Linked DNA regions of Homo sapiens: region 1 is linked to region 2. The links are contacts of gene promoters, found by promoter capture Hi-C in blood cells and fetal thymus (Javierre and others, 2016). All regions are on one chromosome and are shown on one strand. The core of a region is centred on a gene start or on the middle of the fragment in contact, and the rest is flanking DNA. Distances in the headings are between cores, read along the strand shown. Region 1 holds the start of WRNIP1 (WRN helicase interacting protein 1). Region 2 overlaps GMDS (GDP-mannose 4,6-dehydratase).

Evidence for each region. Contacts are between HindIII fragments. The CHiCAGO score rates a contact against its expected background, and 5 or more counts as called.
Region 1: the fragment with the promoter of WRNIP1 here is called in contact with a fragment that was not itself captured in region 2 in 1 of 17 cell types (neutrophils); the score reaches 5.1 in neutrophils.

Annotation. Positions count from the first base shown.
Region 1 is chr6:2,763,867-2,767,537 of GRCh38, forward strand. It overlaps WRNIP1 (WRN helicase interacting protein 1), which reads left to right and starts at 1,527. Exons shown (of 7, transcript NM_020135.3): 1 at 1,527-2,578. The coding sequence starts at 1,757. It also overlaps a transcript of MYLK4 not described here. RefSeq lists enhancers at 92-971, 1,069-1,363 and silencers at 818-907, 1,288-1,337, 1,498-1,957, 2,128-2,447. The HindIII fragment of the contact is 13,290 bases long and covers 1-3,671 here.
Region 2 is chr6:2,224,038-2,227,989 of GRCh38, forward strand. All of the region lies in intron 1 of GMDS (GDP-mannose 4,6-dehydratase), which reads right to left. Among named protein-coding and RNA genes, the nearest start is that of GMDS, 20 kb to the right of the region's middle. RefSeq lists a silencer at 2,718-3,012. The HindIII fragment of the contact is 6,028 bases long and covers 1-3,952 here.

The sequences.
Region 1 (3,671 bases), core at 277-2,776, 540 kb after region 2:
TCGGGCGCAGTGGCTCATGCCTGTAATCCCAGCACTTTGGGAGACCGAGGTGGGCGGATCACCTGAGGTCGGGAGTTCGAGGAAGAAACCCCGTCTGTACTAAAAATCCAAAAAAATTACCTGGGTGTGGTGGCGGACGCCCGTAATTCCAGCTACTCGAGAGGCTGAGACAGCAGAATCACTGGAACCCGGGAGGCGGAGGTTGCCGTGAGCTGAGATTGCGCCATTGCACTCCAGCCTGGACAAGAGTGAAACTGCGTCTCAAAAAAATAATGAAAGCTCACGATCCTCTTTTGGTAGTTTCACGTTACATGATGATTAAAGTTTAACTTGTTTCTCTAGCGTTTCTATTAATCTTATTTTTGAGCCTAACTTTTTTAGTTAGAAACAACTCTTAACCAGCCAGCCAGGCGTGGTGGCTCAGCCTGTAACCCCAGGACGACTCCAAAGGCTAAGGCGGAAGGGTCCCGGGCGCCCAGGAGTTCAAGGCTGTGAGCTCTGGTCGCGGCCCTGCACTCCAGCCTGGGCGACAGAACGAGTGAGACCCTCAATGTGCTCTTGCCCAGATGAAATAAAAATTCAAGTTTTGGCCAAATTTCGGAAAAGTCTTCATTCTCCCTCAATTCATTTACCTCTTCTAGTTACCAAAAATGCCTGTTTTGAGATACATGTTTTAAAACGGGAGACTTAGACAAAAGCAAAAAATAACATGGTAATTCATTCAAAGATGCAGACTACCACACTTGTTTTAATCTGATATTCTTTCCATTTCTATCCGTCTAGGACGTAATTGCACACGGGCGCCTCCCATCATTTGGTTGCTAAGGAGACAGAAGGCTGGTGTTTCCGATTTGCCACTATTACACAGCGGCCCGCGAGAAGCATCTCTTGGCTCGAAGCGCGCTGTAGGTGAACCGCCCTTGACTTAAACGCCAACACATCTAAAAGGGGGCGAGGGACGCTTTATTTTCATTTCCCTGACCACTACTGAGGTGAGCATTTCTTTCACTCGCGTACTTGTTTGTATTTTTTCTGCTGTTCACGTCCAATAGAACACTGGTTTTCTATTGGAGGCTTTTGGGTTTTTTCCCCCATTTCCCTTTCGTTACAAACGACCCGCTGCGGCCGCCTCCTGCTTGTCCCCACAGGCCCATTCAACAGCCCAGCACGGAAGGCCGGGAAAGCGGCGCTCGCCGCTCCAACAACCTCGCGCAGTCCGTGGCTCCTCCCTGCCCTCGCGCGACTCGCAGGCCTGGGCGGAGGGCTGCGTCCGCCACCGCGCAACCTCGCGCACGCGCACCACGCTCGCCTCGCAACCCCCCCCCCCGCCCCTCCCCCGCCCCCGCAAAGGCTGTTCTCAGAGTCGGAAATGGACGCACGGCAGCTGGGGCGAATGGCCGCGGACTACACTTCCCGAAGTGCCGCGCGAGGTATTCTCGGCGGTGATTGGGGCAAACGGCCACGGACTACACTTACTTACATGCCGCGCGAGGCGCCTCCGCCGCCGGGGCAAACGGCCACGAACTACACTTCCCGACACGCCGCGTGAGGCGCTGCCAGCGGCCGGCCGAGGGCGGGCGGACGCGGGAGCTGCGGACGTGAGGCATGAGCGGCGCCCTCCTCCGGCCCGCGAGCGTCCTGCTGGTTCCCCGAGCGAGGGTCTCGCGGCGCGGGGCCTAGCGGAGGGCATCGAAGGCCTCCGCGTGCGCACGGGTTGCTGCGGCCGCGCCGGGCGCCGGGGAGGGCGGCGGCCGCCATGGAGGTGAGCGGGCCGGAAGACGACCCCTTCCTTTCGCAGCTGCACCAGGTGCAGTGCCCCGTGTGCCAGCAGATGATGCCCGCCGCGCACATCAACTCGCACCTGGACCGCTGTCTGCTGCTCCACCCGGCGGGGCACGCGGAGCCCGCGGCCGGGTCGCACCGCGCCGGGGAGCGGGCCAAGGGGCCCTCGCCGCCCGGCGCCAAGAGGCGGCGGCTGTCGGAGAGCTCGGCGCTGAAGCAGCCAGCCACCCCGACGGCAGCCGAGAGCAGCGAGGGCGAGGGTGAGGAGGGCGACGACGGCGGCGAGACCGAGAGCCGCGAGAGCTACGACGCGCCGCCCACACCCAGCGGCGCCCGCCTTATCCCCGACTTCCCGGTGGCCCGCTCCAGCAGCCCCGGGAGGAAGGGGTCGGGGAAGAGGCCGGCGGCCGCCGCCGCGGCGGGGAGCGCGTCTCCGCGCAGCTGGGACGAGGCGGAGGCGCAGGAGGAGGAGGAGGCCGTGGGCGACGGCGATGGCGACGGGGACGCGGACGCGGACGGCGAGGACGACCCGGGGCACTGGGACGCGGACGCTGCCGAAGCCGCCACCGCCTTCGGGGCCAGTGGCGGGGGCCGCCCGCACCCCCGGGCGCTGGCTGCCGAGGAGATCCGACAGATGCTACAGGGCAAGCCGCTGGCCGACACGATGCGTCCTGACACGCTGCAGGATTACTTCGGGCAGAGCAAGGCCGTGGGCCAGGATACCCTGCTGCGCTCGCTCCTGGAGACCAACGAAATCCCCTCGCTTATCCTGTGGGGGCCGCCGGGCTGCGGCAAGGTGAGTGCGGCCTTGGCCGTTGGGCTTCCGTAGTTATCTCGGCGGTGGATGCAGCTGATGGTCGGAGAGCCGGGTGTGCTGCCCTCGAAAGAAGCCGCCTGCCTCTCCTGGATAAGGGGGTGCAGACTTGGGCTGGGCTGGGGCAGTGCCTGGTCCACAGGTGGAGTCTGTGATGGGTGTGAAAAGGGCACACACCCCCAGATTGGTAAGGCAGGCTTGCCGGGTTTGCAAAAGGACGATGTCTGTGAATCCATAGTTTTACAAGATGTGGACTCTTAGATTTGATCTGCCTTTATCTTCCATCGGTCTCCCCGCCCCCTCCCCAGACTTTGATTTAGTAACCGAATTCGCAAGGAATCAGCATGTTTAAATTGTAAAGAAACATTTGTATATTCCGTTTGTACATAATAACGGATTCAGCTTTGAAAAAAATCAAATTAATTCTGTTGTGCTTCCTTCCTTTTCCACTAGTTGTTGGTTTAACAGACTGGTATTTATTCTTAAGAATAAGTTTATTTAACATTCTTATATTCTTGAGAATATATTGATTTTACTAAATATACTCATGTATTTACAAAACTAACATAAAAACTTTTTCATCTGCAAGTCATTTTCATCCGGTATTTCCGTAACTTTTCTCATAATGCCTTGTACTCTAGAGAAGAAACATCCGTGCATTTTGGTGTCCAGTTCTGTGTCCCTTCGTGAGGCGTTAGCGTTCCAGATGAGGGCAGTTAGGATATTGTGAGTCTAGAAAGCATGTCATTGGAAAAACACTTGAGAAAAAAATGGAGGAGGTGAGCCAGAAAACAGAGAAAGCTAAGAAGTGCTTAAATACAGGATGCTTTTATCCATAATAAGGGAGAAGAACCAGCATCAGGAAGGGAAAGGGAGAATTCAGGGATCAAACTGTAAAGAGTTCTTGTAGCTTTGAGATTCAGACTCGTTTGCACACAAGGCTTTTATGATTTTTCTCCTATTTTTCTTTCTAGCTTTATCTCCCACAACTTAAGCACACCCCCTTTAACTCCAGTTCCTGGAATGAATTGCCCTTTTTGTGCCTTCTTGTTTGCACTCATGCCTTCCCTTTGGC
Region 2 (3,952 bases), core at 238-2,737:
GATAACACACGCCAACAAAGCAAGTAAGACAAGGACTGAAGTTGCAGGGTTTAGCCGTGAAAGGTAATTTAGAAGATCTTATATAACAACAGTTTAGGGTAGGATGGGGAAAGCAACCAAATATAATGAGTTGAACAGTCCTTAAGAGATAAGAAAATGGACATAGTGACTGAAGCCACTGGGCTGTGAAACAAAGGCTGGGGGAATAATGAGAAAGATACTGACAGCCCGTTGTGGAACCCTAGAAATTATCCACCCTTATTGACACAGGTGTTGGGTTACTGTGCTTCATCTTTAATTCAGCTCTGTTGCAGGGATCCCTAATGCAGAACACTGACCACAGGGCCACAATGACTTCTGGACATTAGACTCAGACAACTTGGCATTTTCAGTTTGGTGATGATGTTGGAAACTGTTTTCAATTTGCAACCTAATTGCTTCCCAAATAAAGATCTCAATGATGCTTCTCATAGGAGAAATACATATATTCTAAAGAGTGCACTGAGTAGTTTTTAGCTATTTTACATATAATTTTATAGTTATAGGAGCGAAGATCAGTGATCAGAAATATTTTATGTACAAGTTTGGTATTATGTCTCAGAGAAAAAAAATCATAAGTATAGCATTTGTTAATGAACACCAAGTACCTTCATAAAAACATGTTTATTTGAACATGCAAATAAGAGTTAGTTGTTTACTCTCATCAAAATTATAGCGTGTCTTCAGGAAAAGAATTCTAGGTCAAAGCAGACTAATGTTCAGGACAGCCAAGAGTAAAACATTAATGAATATTTATTAATATTATGTGCCAGACACTGTGTCCTTCAACCCTCACCTATGGCTAGTACCATTATCCTCACTTTACAAAAGAGAAAACTGAGGCACAGAGAGGCTGAATAATTACTTGAAAGTCACAGAACTGAGAACTGGCAGAGAGGAGATTTGAACGCACGTACGTCCACACGATGTCAGACGCTACCTGAGATGAACAGTAAGCCTTGGCCGGGCATGGTGGCTCAGGCCTGTAACCTCAGCACTTTGGGAAGCCGAGGTGGGTGGATCGCTTGGGCCCAGGAATTCAAGACCAGCCTGGGCAACATGGTGAAACCTCGTTTCTATAAAAAATACAAAAAAAAAAAAAAATTAGCTGGGCATGGTAGTGCACAACTGTGGTCCCAGCTACTCGGGAGGCTGAGGCAGAAGTATTGTCTGAGCTGGGGAGGTCAAGGCTTCAGTAAGCCAAGACTGCACCACCGCACTCCATCCTGAGTAACCAAGCAAGACCCTGTCTCAATAAATAAACAAACAAACAAATAAATAAGCCTTTATCCTATGATCTCATTAAAGACAGAGGTGCCCCCTAACTTGCCCTTTAACTTGCAGTCTTGATCCCTGCAACAAAGCTGAACTAAAGATGAAGTGCAATACCAAACTGCTCCCTAACTTGTACCTTCTCCTGCTCCTATGCCACAGCTCTCTTCCATAAGTTCATTCTGAAGAGTCCTAGGCTGTTCTATGCAAATGACGAATCATTTGCCAACCCTTAGATTTTCCGGCTTGCATCCGGATCAGTGTGTTGGCTGTAAACCAACCAACACAGATGATCAATATTACAGCACAAAGGAAGTAAAAAGCCTTTGTGATTATCCAGTAAGCTAGGGATCAGAAAAGAATGATTGCAAAATCCTAACGTACAGTAGAATAAGGAAATGTTTCCAGGTATTTGTCAGAAAAGGGCCAGCTTCCATCTGGACCATGACCTACAAACAACATTAATGCTCCTAACAGAACTATTTAAATAAGATTCCACTGTTTGTTCTCTGAAATCTCCTGGGACACAATGACTACCTAGAAGGTAATCAGACCTCGACCACAGGAGAGCCAAGGACTGCCATTCCAGCTTTCCTGCCATTCTCACTTCCTGGCAGGTGAACTCTGCTCCCATTCCAGCCCCTGAAAGCCTAACCTAAGAAAAGAAAAAAAGAGAGAGGAATAGAAAAGAAAAAACTGTGAAAAGAAAGAAATGAAATAGAGGCAGAAAACAAAGAGGAGGGAGAAAGGAAACAATTACACTAGAGGTAGTTTCTGCTAGACCAACACTGAGCCAGGCCATCCCAGTTTTCACTCTCTTCTGGACACTCACCAACAATATACTTTAATTTTGTCAAAACTGCCTTTGGGTGAGGCATCCTGATTCCTGGGTAGAAATAACATGAAACCCGTGAAGTCAGAGACTCTTCTATAGTAGAGACCCAGAATGCAGTTCACTAATTTTGAAAGAATTTGTCAGAGCTGTAGGAGACCTGTGAGATCATGATTGCTGTTCCCATCTAAGAGTTAGATTCTGCCTATGATAACTGTCCATAAGGGCAACATTCCAACTAAATTTTCGCATTACTGTGTGCTACAATTAATTTTTTTAATCCAGTTAATAAAGTGCTTTCACAGAGTATATCATTAACAAAAGTTAATCGATAAATACTCCAGAGCAATAGCCCCAACAACAGAGATATTATAACCCTCCTATCAGAATACACAGAAATGGAATATGAGTATCTGGAAATGCAAACTTCAGCAAACATCACAGGAATTTTTTTAAGTGTTTGCATATAACATGTCAAAAACTAATGAACTCTGATTCTACTAGCATTTACTCTCCTAAATTCTATCACTCAAAATAATATGAAACCATTAAAAACACCTAACATGTGAACTAAAATATACACACAAATGTCTATGACAATCATAATAGGAGGTGCTAAGCTGGTTAACTAACAAGATCTCTTGAGGCTGGGATTTTCCTCACCCTAGACCCCCAGATGCATTCATCCCTGGAGTCCCTCGTACTCAATCAGTACTTGATGACTCTGAAAGAATCATCCAGGAATGATTCCAGATGGAATTTAAGTTCCATATCCAACTCAAGGCCAGTAACATTTGCTGAAAAGCAGTGAAGTCAATCAGTAACAAGTTAGTCAAAACAATGAAGAAAAGATAATGCAGGCAGTAATTACTTCTGAGTGGTGGGATTGCGGGTGTTGTTTTTTTTCCCCCTGAAACTTTATATCCTCCTATACTTCCAATTTTTCAATAGTGAACATTATTTTTACTATTCTGAATAAATGTTAAGGAAAAAAGTTTATGAAATATATATATTTCCATATATATGTCATATATATATATAAAATGTTTCAAGTCACTACTACGGTCCCCATAAATGAATGGTTCTCAACCACAACACCTCACTTTTCAAACACCTCAGAATGTTTCTAAAAACAGCCAGCTCCAAGTTCTACCCTAAGCCCACTGAACTGCATAGAAGAGCCAAGAGTTATTCAACCTGCCCAAGTAATTCTATTACACCACCAACATCAGAACCATGCTTTATGGATGCTTCAACTACAAATGGCAAGTTTCTTATCTTTGGAGAGGACTGAAATCAAAGGTCAGAACATCAACAAAAAAGCAAAGTATTCTTTTGGAACAAGCTCCATATCTAGAGAAACAGCTGATTCTAGTGAGAATTTCAGTAGTTCCTAGAGAGTGACTGTGGAAAAGGCAAGCACAGCAGGAGACACCTGAGATTGCACTGGATGCAGGGAGTGAGGTGCCAATTGTGGCTGGAACTATAGGAAGGAGCGGGCAGGCCAGAGCTGTTTCCCTGGGATTCCAGAACAGAAGGCTGTGCCACACAGAGGTCCCCTGGGTCACAATAGCAGCTGAATCTCAGTGGCCATGACAGCAAGGCAACAACGGGGCCAGCTCCCCAAGGTCCATGTAAGTGCAGCTGCCCAGGACTCCCCTTGCTGTCCAGACATAGGCTCTCCTACCTGCTTCCAACTTCAGTTCTGTGGCATTTCCAGGAAATATGGGTAGTTAACACATAACCATGCTCAATGAGAGCCAACCTGTGGCTGTGCGGCCCTTTCTCGGCACGTGGCCCAAGCCTGTG